Linked DNA regions of Homo sapiens: region 2 is linked to region 1. The links are contacts of gene promoters, found by promoter capture Hi-C in human tissues and cell types (Jung and others, 2019). All regions are on one chromosome and are shown on one strand. Each heading gives the region's core, a stretch centred on a gene start or on the middle of the fragment in contact. The rest is flanking DNA. Distances are from core to core; before and after follow the strand shown. Region 1 holds the start of OR10G2 (olfactory receptor family 10 subfamily G member 2). Region 2 has its middle 110 kb from the start of OR4E1.

What was found. Contacts are between HindIII fragments. The study calls those that stand out against the background at their distance.
Region 2: a fragment that was not itself captured here is called in contact with the fragment with the promoter of OR10G2 in region 1 in 2 of the 25 tissues and cell types used here (aorta and hippocampus).

Annotation. Positions count from the first base shown.
Region 1 is chr14:21,632,911-21,637,010 of GRCh38, forward strand. OR10G2 (olfactory receptor family 10 subfamily G member 2) reads right to left here and starts at 2,030. Exons shown (of 1, transcript NM_001005466.2): 1 at 926-2,030. The coding sequence starts at 1,932. The coding sequence ends at 1,000. It also overlaps TRA. The HindIII fragment of the contact is 10,781 bases long and covers 1-4,100 here.
Region 2 is chr14:21,781,808-21,785,898 of GRCh38, forward strand. It overlaps TRA and TRAV7. Among named protein-coding and RNA genes, the nearest start is that of OR4E1, 110 kb to the left of the region's middle. The HindIII fragment of the contact is 3,829 bases long and covers 502-4,091 here.

The sequences.
Region 1 (4,100 bases), core at 780-3,279:
TGGGGCAAGGTCTATACTAAAGAAGCCATGGCAATACCAGGGAAGAGGAGTTAAGTCCTGCCTGGGAAAAACAGATGAGGAAGTATTTAATATGGATCTGAAGGAAGCATAAATTGTCACTTGGTCAATATGGAGAGGGAGGACTTATATTCCAGGCAGAGAAGAGAGCTTGAGCAAAAGAGTACAGGCAAGTATAGAGCATGCTCACGGAACGGCAATAAATCAGTGAGGGTGGGAGAGGGAAGCAGAGGAAATGGCTTAAGAGAACATGTATGTGAAGCCAAGATTGCATTGGATTTTGAATTCCAGATTAAGGAGCCTGGCCTTATTCATTCTACCTTCGCCGAAGAGTCCTACAGATTCTGTGTTTCAGAGGGTAATTTTGATTGTGGTCTAGATGAGGAAGAACTAGTCAAGAATTAAGAGAGACAGTCTACACTGAATCAGTTTGAGCTGGTTTCATAGTTTTGAGGAGACAGAATCTGATGTGTTAGCACATCACGAGGGCGAGGGACAGGAAGAAAACACAAATAATCCAGAATTTTCAAGTTCAAGTGCTTGGAAATATTCATGCCATGCACAAGCAAAGAAATGGAATTTAGAGGGGTCTAGGATTAGGAGCAAAGACAATGAAACAAGGGGTTATGGAGCCCCCTTTTTACTCTTTTCAAATTTTCTGGCATGATATACTTTCTAAGACATTGACACATTCTCATCTTATTCAACCTTTGGTAAGGCATTTTCTCATCTCACAAGATAGAGGTGATAGAAATAATGTATCCATTTATTTCTAAAAGATTATGTAAAACAACCTGAACCAGTTTAATTAGGGGAAAAGATTTTGGGTCGAAATAATTCAGAATTTTCTGCCAAAGAAAATGAAAATAAATTCACTTTAAATCCTTAGCAGTTTATTGGGCATTTGTCACATGCAGCAGTAGCTGAAGAGAGTGGCAGTGATAATGATGCAGATGTAGTTACTTATTTTCATTCAGTCCTTCAACCTGCTGTTATCCTCTTCAGGGCAGACTTCACTTCCTGGTTCCTCAGTGTATAGATGAGGGGGTTCAGTAATGGAGTGACAACAGTGTAAAACACAGCCGCTGCCCCATCCAGGGGGTCTTTGGAGCCAGCCCTAAGGTAGATGAAAATACAGGGGACATAGTAGACTGTGACCACGATTAGGTGGGAGCCACAGGTGGAGAAGGCCCGGCGCCTCCCATCAGTGGTGCGTATCTTCAGGATGGCATTTACTATGTTGGCATACGAGAGCAGAATTAACATGAAGCAACTGGCGGCCACTACCCCGACGTCCACAAAGGTCACAAGCTCATTGACAGTTGTGTCAGCACAGGCCAGTCTCAATACTGCGGGGATGTCACAGATAAAGTAATCCACCTGATTGGGCCCACAGTAGGGCAGGCGGAAGGTCAAGGTGGCCTGGATAGACCCATGCATGGAGCCGGCGACCCAAGCTCCAGCCACAAGGACTGTGCATAACCTCCCATTCATGAGCACTGGGTAGCGCAGGGGCTGACATATTGCCAGGTACCTGTCATAGGCCATCAAGGTGTAGAGGAAGCACTGGGTGCTGCCCAGGAAGTGAAAGAAATACAGTTGAGCCACACAGCCACCAAACGGGATAGCCTTGATGGAAGGAGTAAAATCCAAAATAAGCAGAGGAACGGTGACTGAGGAGAGCCACATGTCCAGGAATGAGAGCACTCCCAGAAGAATGTACATGGGGCGAGCACAGAGCTTCGGGTCAGCCCACATGGTGAGCAGAATGAGCAGGTTCCCCAGCTGAGTGAGGATGTAAATGATGAAGAAGACCAGGAAGAGGAGGCTTCTTAGATTTGGGGGGTGAGACAAACCCAGAAGAATGAAATCTGTCACCACGGCATCCAGCGATGTGTTTTTGGTCTTTCCCATGTCTTTTTGTAGTCTGCTAAGATGAATGGTGACGTTTGACAAGAGAAACACAGCACAATGATGTTGTAAGTGAATGCTTTTGTCGGATGATTGATGCCTAGGAATTATGAGATAAACAAGATAGAGTCAAATTGTTTTTTAAAAGAGGAGGTGGTGTCACCATTAGTTATTTAGGTTTACTTAAAAGGAGAAGTCCTCCAGAGGCTGGTTAGTTTCCTAGATGGGAGGAAACTCTTGTCCATTGAGAGATACTGAAAGCCAGGATTTGCCAGATGAAGGAAGAGGGACACATGAGAGTGATAGAGAAGTACCGAAAATTCCAACCAAAAAGTGAGTTCGCCAAGGAGGGGCTAAAGTTGATGCAGAGCAGTGTGGAACAAACACCCTATAATGACCACATCTACTTTTTCTTCACCTACTATCATTGTCCCCTTTTTCCTCAGCTAAAATCTCATCTCCTTAACATATCATGCAAAAATATTCCTCATCTGGCCCTTATTTATATCGCTATTGTACCACTTGTAATTCCTTCTTATTGTTGGGAGGCATGACACTCTTCAAGCTTCTCACAGTAGTGTGCTCTAACTTGGGACTTACGCACACACTATCTTTTCTGCTCCCTTCACATAGGTAGTGCCCACTTTTCCTTCAGGATTCAGTTTGAGTGTCTTCACCTTCAAGAAGGCTTTCCGGATCCCTGAGGACAATGCTTATACTTTTCTGAGCACGTACATTATGTTGCATTGTCTAATTTCTGTTTTTCTCTCTTAATAATCATCCCGTCTAGCATGCTAAAAGTGATAAATACCGTAATTATTTTCTGAATGACTGAGATAGATAGAATGGATGTTGCCAAATCCCCCTGACTGAATACATTGTTTCTCTTGATCTTTTTTGTCTGACCCCTGTGCTCACATGGCTGGGACTTTTAGGTCAAGGGACCACCTCATTCACCATGTAATATGGGTATAATTTCATTATAAAAAACTCCAAGAAACATTTATGCCTGTTTTTGCTCCAGGATATCATTTAGATTTATTTGTTGATTTATATGGTTCATTGGTTTGGGATTGGGTTTTTTTTTTGGTATGAGGTCACAGAGGAATTTTTATTGTTTGTTATAAAATCATTGATTAATGCAGGACTTGATCTTTAGTGTGCTTGTGTGTAATATCTATGTATTGCAGTCTATCAAACAGCAACTCTCTCTAAAGACATTTACAGATTTTCAAGTATCTGAACAAGATGATAAAATAGAGGGATGGAATGTGTTTGTTTCACTCTTTTTGTTAAATAGGTTGCTTGATAAAGACTTTTCGCTCTATATATGGTTTGAGATGCATTTATCTTTCATTTAACTACAAAATATCTTTGTAATGCAAATGACTACTTTCATAAAGCAATTAAAATGACAATAGATTATTATAAATAACATGTGAATATTAATAAGTTTAATCTCTATCGGAAATTCTCCAAAGAGATTTTATCTTAAGTATTCTGTGAAATAACTTAATTCATATGTTAACATTCAAGAGTTATTAGTAGTAATAATAATAATACTGAATATATCTGGCTCTTCGAAGTCTGGAAAATGTTAAACTTGTCCTTTGCCCACCAAGAACGAAGAAATATCAGATTTTTATTGCCTGAGTTTCAGGAGGACACTTTGATTTATTTGAAAATGGATGGGAAAACTAAATCTTATTTTTGTGGTTAGAATATAGAGAAAAGAGGCTGGGCGTGGTGGCTCACGTCTGTAATCCCAGCACTTTGGGAGGCCGAGGCAGGCAGATCATGAGGTCAAGAGATGGAGACCACCCTGACCAACATGGTGAAACCCTGTCTCTACTAAAAATACAAAAAAATTAGCTGGGTGTGGTGTCGGGCGCCTGTAGTCCCAGCTACTCGGGAGGCTGAGGCAGGAGAATCTCTTGAACCCGGGAGGCGGAAGTTGCAGTGAGTGGAGATCGCACCACTGCACTCCAGCCTGGTGACAGAGAGAGACTCTGTCTCAAAAAGAAAAAAAAAAAATGAATATAGAGCAAAGATAGAAAGAGTTGAGATTAAAATGGTGCATAAAATACTAATTATGGCCAGGCGCGGTGGCTCATGCCTGTAATCCCAGCACTTTGGGAGGCCAAGGTGGGTGGATCACGAGGTCAGGAGAT
Region 2 (4,091 bases), core at 1,166-3,665, 150 kb after region 1:
CCGGCATACCTGGCTGTGCGCAATGGCCGGACCCTTCACTAACTCACATACCCCTTTCCACTCCGTGCCTGGCTTACCCTTGGCAGCTGTGGTATCTGGGCCAGTAGCATGAGCTGAATGTAGCCTGCTGGGCTGAGTAGGTGGAACGAGCCCAGTGGGCCCAAGCAAAACTTGGGCAAAGATGCCACTGGACACAGAGGTTTCGAGCTGGAAAAGTGACACCCTAAGTGTCCTGTGACAATCCTACAGAAAAGTTGTATTGCTTTCTAGAGTACATTTCCAAATACGTATTCCTAACATTCACTTTGATATGGCTACGGGAGGCCTTGCATTGTGTGTTATTTTCTTTTTCTTTTTTTTTTTTTTTTAAGATGGAGTTTCGCTCTGTCATCCAGGATGGAGTGCAGTGGCACGATCTCAGCTTACTGCAACCTTCGCCTCCCGGGTTCAAGCAATTCTCCTGCCTCAGCCTCCTGAGTAGCTGGGACTACAGGTGCATGCTGCCATACCCAGCTAAGTGTTGTATTTTTAGTAGAGACGGGGTTTCGCTATGTTGGCCTGGCTTGTCTTGAACTTCTGACCTCATGATCCACCTGCCTCGGCCTCCCAAAGTGCTGGGATTACAGGCGTGAGCCACCACGTCTGGCCACTGTGTGTTATTTGGAACCTCCGTGTACCTATGTTAGCTTTCCTTGGCTTTATCAGTTGAGATTGTTGCATTTTGAAGAGAACATATATCCAGTTCTTCTGTTTTGCCCATCTGCTCCATAATCACTGGTGATAGTTTTGCTCTGAGATAGATCAGGCCTCAATGAACAGATTAGTAAAAGAAAAACACAGGAGAAAGTCATGATGATCACATTATAGAGGCTTATAAAATAAGAACAATTCCTCCAATTTAGAAGTTGGAGGAATTTTTGCACGTGGTGTTAGCAGATGTGCACAGCGTTAACATTTCTTTAATAATTTTGCTTATAGCCACAAGGTGACAGGGGTTCTCTTTCATTTGTAAACTATGTCTTTCTTATACCTAGGAAGTATGTTTACGTTAGAAGAGCATATTGCTGATTGGTTGACAGACAGACAGGCTGTTTCATTTATTAGATTAAAAGAAACAAACAATAAAAGCTTTGTTTGGCTACATAATTTTATGCAGCATTTTTGGTATCAAGACAAAGTATCAGGATGGAGAAGATGCGGAGACCTGTCCTAATTATATTTTGTCTATGTCTTGGCTGTAAGTTGAGGGTTCTAAGAACTGGGGACCCCAGGAGACATTTATTCAAGTCCTTTTGGGGAGATGGGGATGTAGTCTGGACTTACTTGTCATTGCTTGTTTGAGATTAAGAAATAAAATTATGAAAGGTCTAAATTAAAATGTACATATTGTACCTGATGTCTTTCTGAATAGGGGCAAATGGAGAAAACCAGGTGGAGCACAGCCCTCATTTTCTGGGACCCCAGCAGGGAGACGTTGCCTCCATGAGCTGCACGTACTCTGTCAGTCGTTTTAACAATTTGCAGTGGTACAGGCAAAATACAGGGATGGGTCCCAAACACCTATTATCCATGTATTCAGCTGGATATGAGAAGCAGAAAGGAAGACTAAATGCTACATTACTGAAGAATGGAAGCAGCTTGTACATTACAGCCGTGCAGCCTGAAGATTCAGCCACCTATTTCTGTGCTGTAGATGCACAGTACTCCCTAGGCACCTGCAACCTGTATCCAAACATGCAGCTGGGTAGAAGTACCATAACAGAAGCATCAGCAATAGGGGCCCTGAGCCTGAGTAGACGTGAAGAACTAAGGCATGAGTATGACCAGAGAGGGGAGGAGATAAAGGGTGCTGTTCATTTGACTCATGTATCTTTTATCAGGCCACCCTTCACAAAGACCGTCTTTGTGCCTTATTTGAATTGATCAATCCTGACCCTTCCTATCTTCAGCAGAATCCTTTAGTGCCCAGGTCAGTCTTCTAGCATAGAGAGCACTTGTTCTCTTCTCAGGCCTGGTGGAAACACATGTCAAAGAAATTTGAAGACTGTTGTTTTTCTACTGTAAAATCTGACAAAGGAACTACAATGGTTGGAATCATATGTGAAAAATGCTGTAGCAGTGGTTTTCATTTACTCACCCACTGAACAAGTATCTCTCAGCTCCTGATATGTGCCAGGTACTCTTTAGTCATTGGGATGCATTGGTATTGAACATAGCAGATAAGCCATCATAGAGCTCATGTTTCCTAAGTTTCTGGGATACACAAAGGGGAAACCAAGTCTGCCTAGGATTTAGAGGTTCCCGAGAAATTGCAGCAAGAGTTTAGTTTCATCTTCATCAATCATTTTTCTCATGGAAACATGGTTAAAGATTGGGGACAGCTGAATGCTGCTTGAATCTGTGGGTCAAGAATTGGCTTCACATGTTGAGGTATTGTCTGCCAGAGTTGAGGAGAAATGCCAGGTGGTTTTCGGTATCATCTGGCCATTTCCAAACAAGTCTGGAAAGTGAAGTGCTACAGGCTGTCATAAATAAAACAAATCTATAAAGCCTGACCCTTTATTTAATGGAATTGTGGAGTTCAAATAAAATATCAAATACGATGCTATTGATGAATAGCACTAAACATTGGACATTATTTTAAATAATTTGTAGAGTAGCTTTCTGTTACTGTAGATTCTAGATGCTCTTTTGGGGACCCAGCTCAGGACAGGCTAAGTGGAATTTGTGAAACCATCAGAAAGGAGAAAGGAGAAGCTCAGTCCACTGAGCCAATGCTGTAGGAGTTCTTTATATCCAGAATACATAACGAATGGCTCCAACTTTATAGTGCCAATTAAAAATATGTAAAAGACTTGAACAGGCATTTTACAAGGAAGATAAAGGAATAGCCAATAAACACATGGAAATTTGTTCTATGTCTTAAGTCATAAAAGAAATGTAAATTAAAACCACGATGAAATATTACTTTATACCTATGTCTAAAATTAAAAAGACTGACAACATCAAACCCTAGGTTTCCAGTGGCCTTGCTGTCCTGAACAGGTGCAAACAGCCCAGAGCTGGGGAAGTCTACAGGCCCTGAATATCCAGGAGGAATAGCCATTGCCATAAATTGAAATGAATATGATTCTGGGATCTTGTTAAAAGTATACATTAACTTAGGGTAAAATATATGAATTAACTTAGATAAAATGACGGCAGTATTATGGCAAGTCTTCCTATCCAAAAGTGTGGTAGGTTTTTAATTCTTTTGTGATCTCCAGGAGAGTTGCAATATATCCAGAATATAGAAAGAACGACTACAACTTTATAGTAACGATAAAAAACATGCAAAAGACTTGAATACGCATTTTACAAGGAAGACAAAGGAACAGTCAATAAACAAATGGAAGTTTGTTCTATGTCTTAAGTCATAAAAGAAATGTGGCCACGCACGGTGGCTCATGCCTGTAATCCCAGCACTTTGGGAGGCCAAGGCGGGCAGATCATGTGGTCAAGAGATTGAGACCATCCTGGCCAACATGGTGAAACCCTGTCTCTACTGAAAATACAACAATCAGTTAGGTGTGGTGGCGCACACCTGTAGTCCCAGCTACTCAGGAGGCTAAGGCAGGAGAATCACTTGAACCTGGGAGGCGGAGGTTGCAGTGAGCCGAGATTGCGCCACTGCACTCCAGCCTGGTGATAGAGTGAGACTCCATCTCAAAAAAAAAAAAAAAGTAAATTAAATGAGATATCACTTCATACTCATGGCTAAAATTAAAAAGACTGACAACACCAAATTTTGGTGAGAATGTAGAGTCCCTAGAACATGCCTTACTCATATAGGTTTAAATGGATACAGCCACATTGGAAAATACTCACCCTATGATCCAGCAAGTATCTTTTGAGGCATTTACCCAAGGGAAATGTAAAAAAAAAAAAAATCCACTTTCCTGTACAGGAATATTTATAGAAGCTTTATTCATAATAGTTCCAAGTTGGAAACAACTCGAATGTTCATCAATAAGAAAATGGAGCACCAAATTGTAATTTATTCATACTCAGCAGTAAAAAATAGACTACTGACATATACCACATTGTAAACG